Linked DNA regions of Homo sapiens: region 2 is linked to region 1. Evidence: promoter capture Hi-C in 16 types of primary human blood cells and fetal thymus (Javierre and others, 2016). All regions are on one chromosome and are shown on one strand. The core of a region is centred on a gene start or on the middle of the fragment in contact, and the rest is flanking DNA. Distances in the headings are between cores, read along the strand shown. Region 1 holds the start of POFUT2 (protein O-fucosyltransferase 2). Region 2 overlaps COL18A1 (collagen type XVIII alpha 1 chain).

Region 1 (3,695 bases), core at 349-2,848:
TATGTTAGACGTTAAAGCTACAAGTATTTAATTCAGCTAAAAATAAGAAGCCATTACATGTTAACAAAAACCACATATTTAAATAAAAAATAAGTGTATTTTAAAAAATGAATTAGAAGAACTGTGATGATGTTCTTAATTTTTGCAAATCTCTTTTGGGTTTGGTGACAGCTGGATTCCCATACCCGTTTCTGCATTCAATCTGTTGTGACATCACAGATCAAGTGGTTTCTAGGAAAACTCCACAGTGCATTCATGAGAAGTGAAAAAGGCGTATAATACTCTGGTACTACTATTAAAACGGCTACAAAAGCTCAGAGATCCAGGACACACTTTAAGATCACTGCCCTAGAGGAAGGACACAAAGCGCCCCAAGGCACAGACAAGTCCCCAAGGCACAGACAAGTCCCCAAGGGCTACAGAAACCCTGTCCCTGGCGCTCTCCTTTCCCTGCTCTGCGCTGGTTTTCCATACTCCCATCGTCGCGAGTGAAGCTGCGTGCAGCGCCCAGGCCTGCGAACGCCACGAGGGGCCGTGCACACCTCTGCGTCCAGGCCCCTCCCGGGGTCCGCTTGGAGATCCCACAGCCACAGGGCGGCCGCGAAGCTCGTCTTGGCCCTGAGAATTCACTGCGGAGCGCCCGCCCGGCACTGACTCCCGGCTCCGCACACCCAGGCCTGGACCCGTGTCACTTGCAGGGGCCTCCGGAGCCAGCCCACGCTCAGCCTGAGCAACCCGGCCCCCTTCCTGGGCTCCCGAGGCTGCGCCCCGGGCCTCGCAGACGACCCCGCCTGCAGACCCGGGCCGCAGTGACGCAGCCTCGACTACAGCCAACCCGCTGGCCCGACCCTGCCCCCAGCCCCCGCCCCATCCCATCCCCCAGACTCCAGCCCGGCCCCGGCCCCTGCCCCTGCCCCTGCCCCTGTCCCGTCCCCGTCCCATCCTTCTTGGCCCCGGCTCCCGCCCCGCCCCCATCCCATCCCTCGGGCCCCCGTTCCTGCCCCCATCCCATCCCACCCCTCCTGGCCCTAGCCCCTGCCCCGCCCCCATCCCATCCCATCACCCTGGCCCCTGCCCCGCCCCCATCCCATCCCATCGCCCTGATCCCTGCCCCGCCCCCATCCCATCCCTCCTGGCCCCTGCCCCCTGCCCCTATACCATCACCCTGGCCCCTTACTCCGCCACATTCCTTGCCCCAGAACCCTGACCCCATCCCATTCCCCTGACCCCTGCCCCCTGACCCCGCTCCATCCCATCCCCCTGGCCCCTGCCCCATAACTCCGCTCCATTCCATCTCCCTGGCCCCGGACCACCCTCCATCCCGTGGGCCTGCCCCTGACCCCATCCCATCTCCCTGGCCCCTGACCCCGCCCCGCCCCCATCCCATCCTCTGACCCTGCCCGGTCCTGGAACCCCAGCGTTGGCACCGTGGACGCGCGTTTACCGTCTGCGGGAAGCCGCCCCCGACAGAATATCGGCCGCCGATTGTCCGGGCCAGAACTCCTGGCCGGAGGCAGAAGCCGGAGGCCAGGACACTGCCCCCAGCAGCAGGAAGACGAAGCTGAGTGTCGCCATGGCCCCGGGCGGCCACGCACTTCCGGCGGCCGCGCCCCGCCCCGGAACCACGCCCCGCCCCCGTGAAATGCGTTCCCAGTAGCCACGGCAACGCCCAGCTCCGCCCTCCCCGCGCATGCGTTATGCGCCATCACCGGCAAGCAGGGGCGGGAGGGGGAACTGCGCGTGCGCAGAGTCTCCGCCCTCCTGACCGCAGCGGCTAGAGGTTCCATTGCAGACCCGGAGGCCGTGGCTGTGGTTCGCGGCGGTGCTGTCGCGGGCGCCCTGGCGCAGCCCACGCAGGGGCTCCTGAGGGTCCGCGAGGCCGGGAGGTCCGGGGGTCGGGAGGTCCCGGGGTCGGGAAGTCGGTGGACCCTGCAGGCCAGTGGGGAGGGTACGCGAGACTGGGGGCCGGGAGGGCTGACGGCTGGTGGCGCGGGGCGGGTCCGTGGGGAGGAGGCCCGGGGCTGGTAGGGGCGGGAGGGCTGGACGGCGGGGGCGGGGCGGAGGAGGGGGTCCGTAGACGGGGTCGGCGCCGGGTGCTCTCGCCCCTCTGGAGCTGGGGTCGGGGCGGGAGCCGCGCATGAGAGCCTGGGTTTCTAGTCGGGGGGCGCCGTCGAGCTCCACACCTGCGGCCTCCTGGGTGCCCCCAACCCTGGAGCCCCGGCGAGGGGGCACCCGGGCTGAGGCCTGGCCCTCCAAGGAGCCCTGGAGGGACTGTGCTGCTAGGGCGCGGGGCTCGATGGGGTGATCTGGAGACCTGGGGGGATCCGGGGCTGCCGCCCCTGCGCTGCCAACCTCCCACCCCGCCCCTTCTGCGAGGCGTTATTAAAGGTCTGGTTTCGGGAGCCAGGTGCGTGCCCGCCGCCGCCGCTCCCCGCAGCCTCCAGGCAGCTCCCGCTGTTCCCCGAGGGCACCAGCACTGGCCGACCGACCTGGCTTGGGGCGCGGCGCTGGCAAACCCGGCCTTCTGAGGGGACGCCACGCTGACTCTAGTGCAGGCAGCCCCCAAAACGGTATAATTGGACGAATTTCTTGAAGGATGCCAGTTACCAAAAAAGAAAATACTAATGCTTATTATCTGTTAAATTTGAGATCAATTTGTTATCAAATTTTCTCACACAGAAAATTCCAGGCCCAGAGGGCCAAGCTGGTGAATCCTACTTAGAGAAGAAATAATAGGAATCCAGCCACTCAGACGATGGACGAGGAGGGGCACTTCCCTGCTCGATGTATGGGCCAGCATTGCCTTGATAGCAAAGTCAGACATCACCAGACAGTAGAACCACAGACCAATGTCTTTCATGAACCAAGACACAGCATTTAAAAAAATTAGCAAATGGAATTTATATCTGCCTATTGTTTACAAAAAAAGCCAAACTTTGTAAAATACTTGAAGAGATTTATTCTGAGCCAAATATGACCCATGACACAGCCTCAGGACGTCCTGAGAACTTGGCCCAAGGCGGTTGTTTTACTGCTTGGTTTTATTCATTTCAGGGAGACATAAGACATCAGTCAGTACATGTGAGGTGTGCATTGGATTGATCCAGAAAGTCAGGACGACTCCAAGTGGAAAGGCCTCCAGGTAATAGGTGGATTCAAAGATGTTTCTGATTGGCAGTTGGTTGAAAGAAGTTACTATCTGAAGGCTTGGAATCAATAGAAAGGAGTGTCTGGGTTAAGAGAAGGGGCTGTGGAGACCGAGGTCCTTATTATGTGGATGAAATCTCATAGGTGTCCGCCCTCAGAGGCAATACATGGCAAATGTTTCCTATTCAGACCTTCAAAAGGCACTAGACTCTCAGCCAGTCTCCTCAGGATCAGAAAAAGAGCTGGAAAGGGAAGGGGAGTCTACAGAATATGAATTTCCCCACAAGACACCGCTTTGCGGGGCCATTTCAAAATTTGTCAAAGAGATATATTTTGGGGTAAAATACATTGATACTTTGAGGGCCTGTTGTCACGTGATGCTATACCAGCGTCAGATTGGAACTTGGTGTCTTGCTGCTATGGAGTCTGCTGTCAGTCTGGTCAGCTGCACCTGAACTCCAAAGGGAGGTGGGTATAATGAGCCATGTCCAATCCCCGTCCCTTCCTGGCCTGAGCTCATTTTTCAGGTTCTTCAGAATCCCCCTGGT
Region 2 (3,695 bases), core at 578-3,077, 170 kb after region 1:
CCGGGGTGGGGTAGGGAGGCTCCCTTGCTGCAGCTGCCAAGAGTGAGCGAGCGGGGCTTGGGCTTGGGCTGCCCGGGACACTGCCTCCAGGAAGCCCCCTGGGCTGTCTCAGTGGGACTCTGTGAGTGACACATGGAGCTCAGGTCACAAGGGCTGTGGGAGTGTCACCCCACAACAGCAACGGGTGCCTGGCCCTCTGGACTTTGCTCTCTACACCCCTCCTGAGCTCTCACAAACCCTGGCCCCTGGGACCGGAGGCAGGTGATGTTTCCAAGGAGTCCTACAGGCAAGCATCCTCTGACCTGGGAGCTGCGTATTGTTCCCGTTTACAGGTGAGAAACTGAGGCCTAGGAAGGACAGACACGTGTGCGTGCCGCAAGTGTGGCTAGCAAGGAGGGAGCCTGGAGGAGGGCCCAGCAGCCTGGCCCCAGAGCGCTCTTCAGCATCGCAGCAGATGCAGGACAAGCAAGCTCCCAGCCGGGGAGCACCAGGAGACCAGCAGGCATCCACCCTCGTGGTGCAGGCCATCTGATGAGGGCAGGGACCAGTGCCGGGATGGATAGTGCCTGTGCACAGAGTGGGGCGCAACTGGGCACAGCTGCCACCGGGGTGCTCGGGAGGCAGGTCCACACACACGCCGGCCAAGTCGCTCATCTCAAATGCACGAGTCCCGTGATCTTGGAAAGTGGTGCACAGGCCCCTGGGCTGGGGCTTCCTCTGCCTCCACCCCCATCACTGGACATTCGGAGGTCAGTGGGAGGCCACGGGAGTGCACGTGAAGGTCATGTCACCATGATGGCCCCGAGGGGCTGCTCCTTCATCGCTCCTCCCTACCCCATGGGCCAGCCACTGGCACACAGGTGTCCTTATATGGTGCTTACCTCTTGCTCCTTTAGTCAAATGCAGAATTTGAGAAAATGTCCCTTCTCCTTAAAATGCTTTGATTTGTTTGATGTTTCCATGTAACTTTGGTTTAAGAAGGGAGAAGACCACTCTGGGAAATAACTCATGCTTATCTCTCACCGCTTGGCAACCTACAAATATTTTTTCGATGATGCTGGCTAAGCTTCTCGTAAATTCTCCATGCCTCTTAGATGCACCAAGAGTGACTCAGCATTTAACTCCTACTGGAGTGTCAAGGGCCCAGTGCATTGGGTGCAGTTGTCTGTGGGTACAAGATCTTGTGTGATTCTGAACTAAGCACAGACAGAATGAAAAGCACAGCACTCCAAACAGGGCTTCCTGCAGGTCCTTTTACGTATATTTGGGTTTTTGTATATATCTAAGGTCAAGCTAGTGGACATCTATCACTTCAACCAGTTACCGTTGTGAGTGTGGTGAGAAAACTTAAGATCTACTCAAGTTTGAAGTGCCATATGCGATACAGTATTCTAGCTGTAATCACCATGTGTACATTAGACCTCTAGAACTTACTTTTCCTGCATAACTGAAACTTTGTACCCTTCGACCAACAGTCACATTTCCTCTTCTCTGTGGGCTGGCCTCGGCTGTGCCCTGTTAGCATTCCCAGATAAACAAAAGCTAAGGGGGTTAATTGCCACTAGACCTTCCCTGCAGGAAATGGTCCAGTAGTCCAACAGGCGAAATGAAAGGACACTACTCAGTAACAGTAAGTCAAGGAGGCCCCCGTTGCCTATGCACAGAGTGGGGTGGCAGCTGTGCCCCATTGCACCCCACTCTGTGCATGGGCACCGTCCATCCGGCACCAGTCCCTACCCCTTATCAGATGGCCTGCACCATTAGGGTGGACACCTGCTGGTCTCCTGGTGCCCCCCTGCAGGGCTCTTCCTTGTCCTGCATCTGCTGCAATGCTGAAGAGCAGTCTGGAGCCAGGCTGCTGGGCCCCCCTCGAGGCTTCCTTGCTAGCCACATCTGTGGCACACACGCATATTTGTCCTTCCTAGACCTCAGCCCCTGACAACCACCATTCTACTCTGCTCCTATGAATGTGACTTTTTTAGATCCCACATGTGAGATCATGCAGTATTTGCTTCTATGCCTGCCTTATTTCCTTTAGTTTAATATCCTCCAGGTTCATTCATAAAAAGTGCAGTTACAAACTGTTGTTGCAATACCAGCTTTTATAATTGCCCATGTATTTACCTTTATTGAGATCTTCATTTCTTCATGTGACTTACTGTTATTGACTAGTGTCCTTTCATTTTACCTGCTGGACTCCCTGGACCATTTTCTGCAGGGCAGGTCTAGTGGCAATTAACTCCCTTAGCTTTTGTTTATCTGGGAATGCCAATTTCTCCCTCACTTTTGAAGGACAGTTTTACTGGATATAGGACTCTTGGTTAACAGTTTTTTTTTTCTTTTAGTACATTGAATATATTGGTCCACTGCCTTTTGGCTTCCAAAGTTTCTGTGACAAATCTGCTGATAATCTTATTAAGAAGCCCTTGGATGTGATCAGTTGCTTTTCTCTTGCTGCTTTCCAGATTCTCTCTCTGTTTTTGAAAGTTTGATGATAATGTAACTTGGTGTGAGTCTCTTTGAGTTTACCTTACTTGGAGTTCCCTGAGCTCTTAACTGTTTATATTCATGTCTCCCAACAAATTTGAGAAGCTTTCAGCCATTATTTCTTCAGATAGTCTCTCTGCACCTTTCTTTTTCTCTTCTGTTTGCAGCTTCCACGGCATGCATGCTTCCTTGTCTCTTGATGGTGGCCACAAGCCCCTTAGGCTCTTTTCACCTTTCTTTCATCTTTTGTCTTTGAAAATTTCCATTATCTTATCTTCAAGCTCATTAATTTATTCTTTTGTCTGCTCAAATCACCTTCAGATTCCTCTAGTGATGTTTTCAATTTCAGCTATTGTACTTTTCAGTTCTGTAATTTCTTTCTGGTTTCTTTCAAGGTTTTTATATTGATATTTCCATGTTGTTCATACATCACTTTCTTGACTTTCTCCACACCTTCCTGTAGTTCTTTGAGCATCTTTAAGACAGTCATTTTAAAGTCTTTGTCTAGTAGATCTGCCATCAGGTCTTTTGCAGAGACAGCTTCTGTTAATTTATTTTTCTCCTTTGAATGTGCTATATTTTCTTATTGCTTTGTGTGCCTTGTGATTTTGTGTTAAAAAGTGAACATTTGAACTCAGTAATGTGGCTCTTGAATTTTGCCCTTCACCAGCGTTCGCTTTTTTTTGTTACTTTTTAAAAAATGTTTTGTGTCTGTGCCAGAAATCTCCCTTAGGTGTGAACTTCAGGTCTTCTCAGGTCTTTTCTGAGCCTGTCCCTTTCCCTGGGTGTGTGCAGCCACTTTCTAATTTTCCTCTTACATGCTGCTGTTTTTCAATGTCCCGTTCTTTCATGTTTGGCTCCCAAAGGAGGAATAAGATAAAAATGAGGGAGAAAAAACAGTGCCAGCCCTCTAAATCCCCTTCAAGTCACTTCAGCTGGAAGGGGCAGCTTGCAACAACAGAGGGAGTGTAAAACAATGGCCCCACCTCCCTGTCTGCACATCTGTGATCCCAGGCAACCTGATCAGAGCACAGGTTCTCGATGTCTGCAGGACAGGGTCCTTTTTGCCGTCCTGTTTCCCACAAGCTGTGTGGCTGCTGCTCCAGGAACTCGTGCATGGCACCTGCTATGGGAATGGGGGTGGAGGATGGATGTGTGGCTGCTATTGTGCCAAGAGCTGGGGTTTAGCTAAATTAACCACCCGTTAC

Evidence for each region. Contacts are between HindIII fragments. The CHiCAGO score rates a contact against its expected background, and 5 or more counts as called.
Region 2: a contact is called between a fragment that was not itself captured here and the fragment with the promoter of POFUT2 in region 1, in 1 of 17 cell types (endothelial precursors). The highest score is 6.9, in endothelial precursors.

What each region holds. Positions count from the first base shown.
Region 1 is chr21:45,286,297-45,289,991 of GRCh38, forward strand. It overlaps POFUT2 (protein O-fucosyltransferase 2), which reads right to left and starts at 1,599. Exons shown (of 9, transcript NM_133635.6): 1 at 1,445-1,599. The coding sequence starts at 1,575. It overlaps LINC00205 (long intergenic non-protein coding RNA 205), which reads left to right and starts at 1,756. Exons shown (of 3, transcript NR_026943.1): 1 at 1,756-1,948; 2 at 3,055-3,142. RefSeq lists a silencer at 1,526-2,055 and an enhancer at 2,210-2,940. The HindIII fragment of the contact is 9,019 bases long and covers 1-3,695 here.
Region 2 is chr21:45,459,727-45,463,421 of GRCh38, forward strand. The region is part of intron 2 of COL18A1 (collagen type XVIII alpha 1 chain); the gene reads left to right. Among named protein-coding and RNA genes, the nearest start is that of MIR6815, 17 kb to the right of the region's middle. The HindIII fragment of the contact is 1,526 bases long and covers 1,065-2,590 here.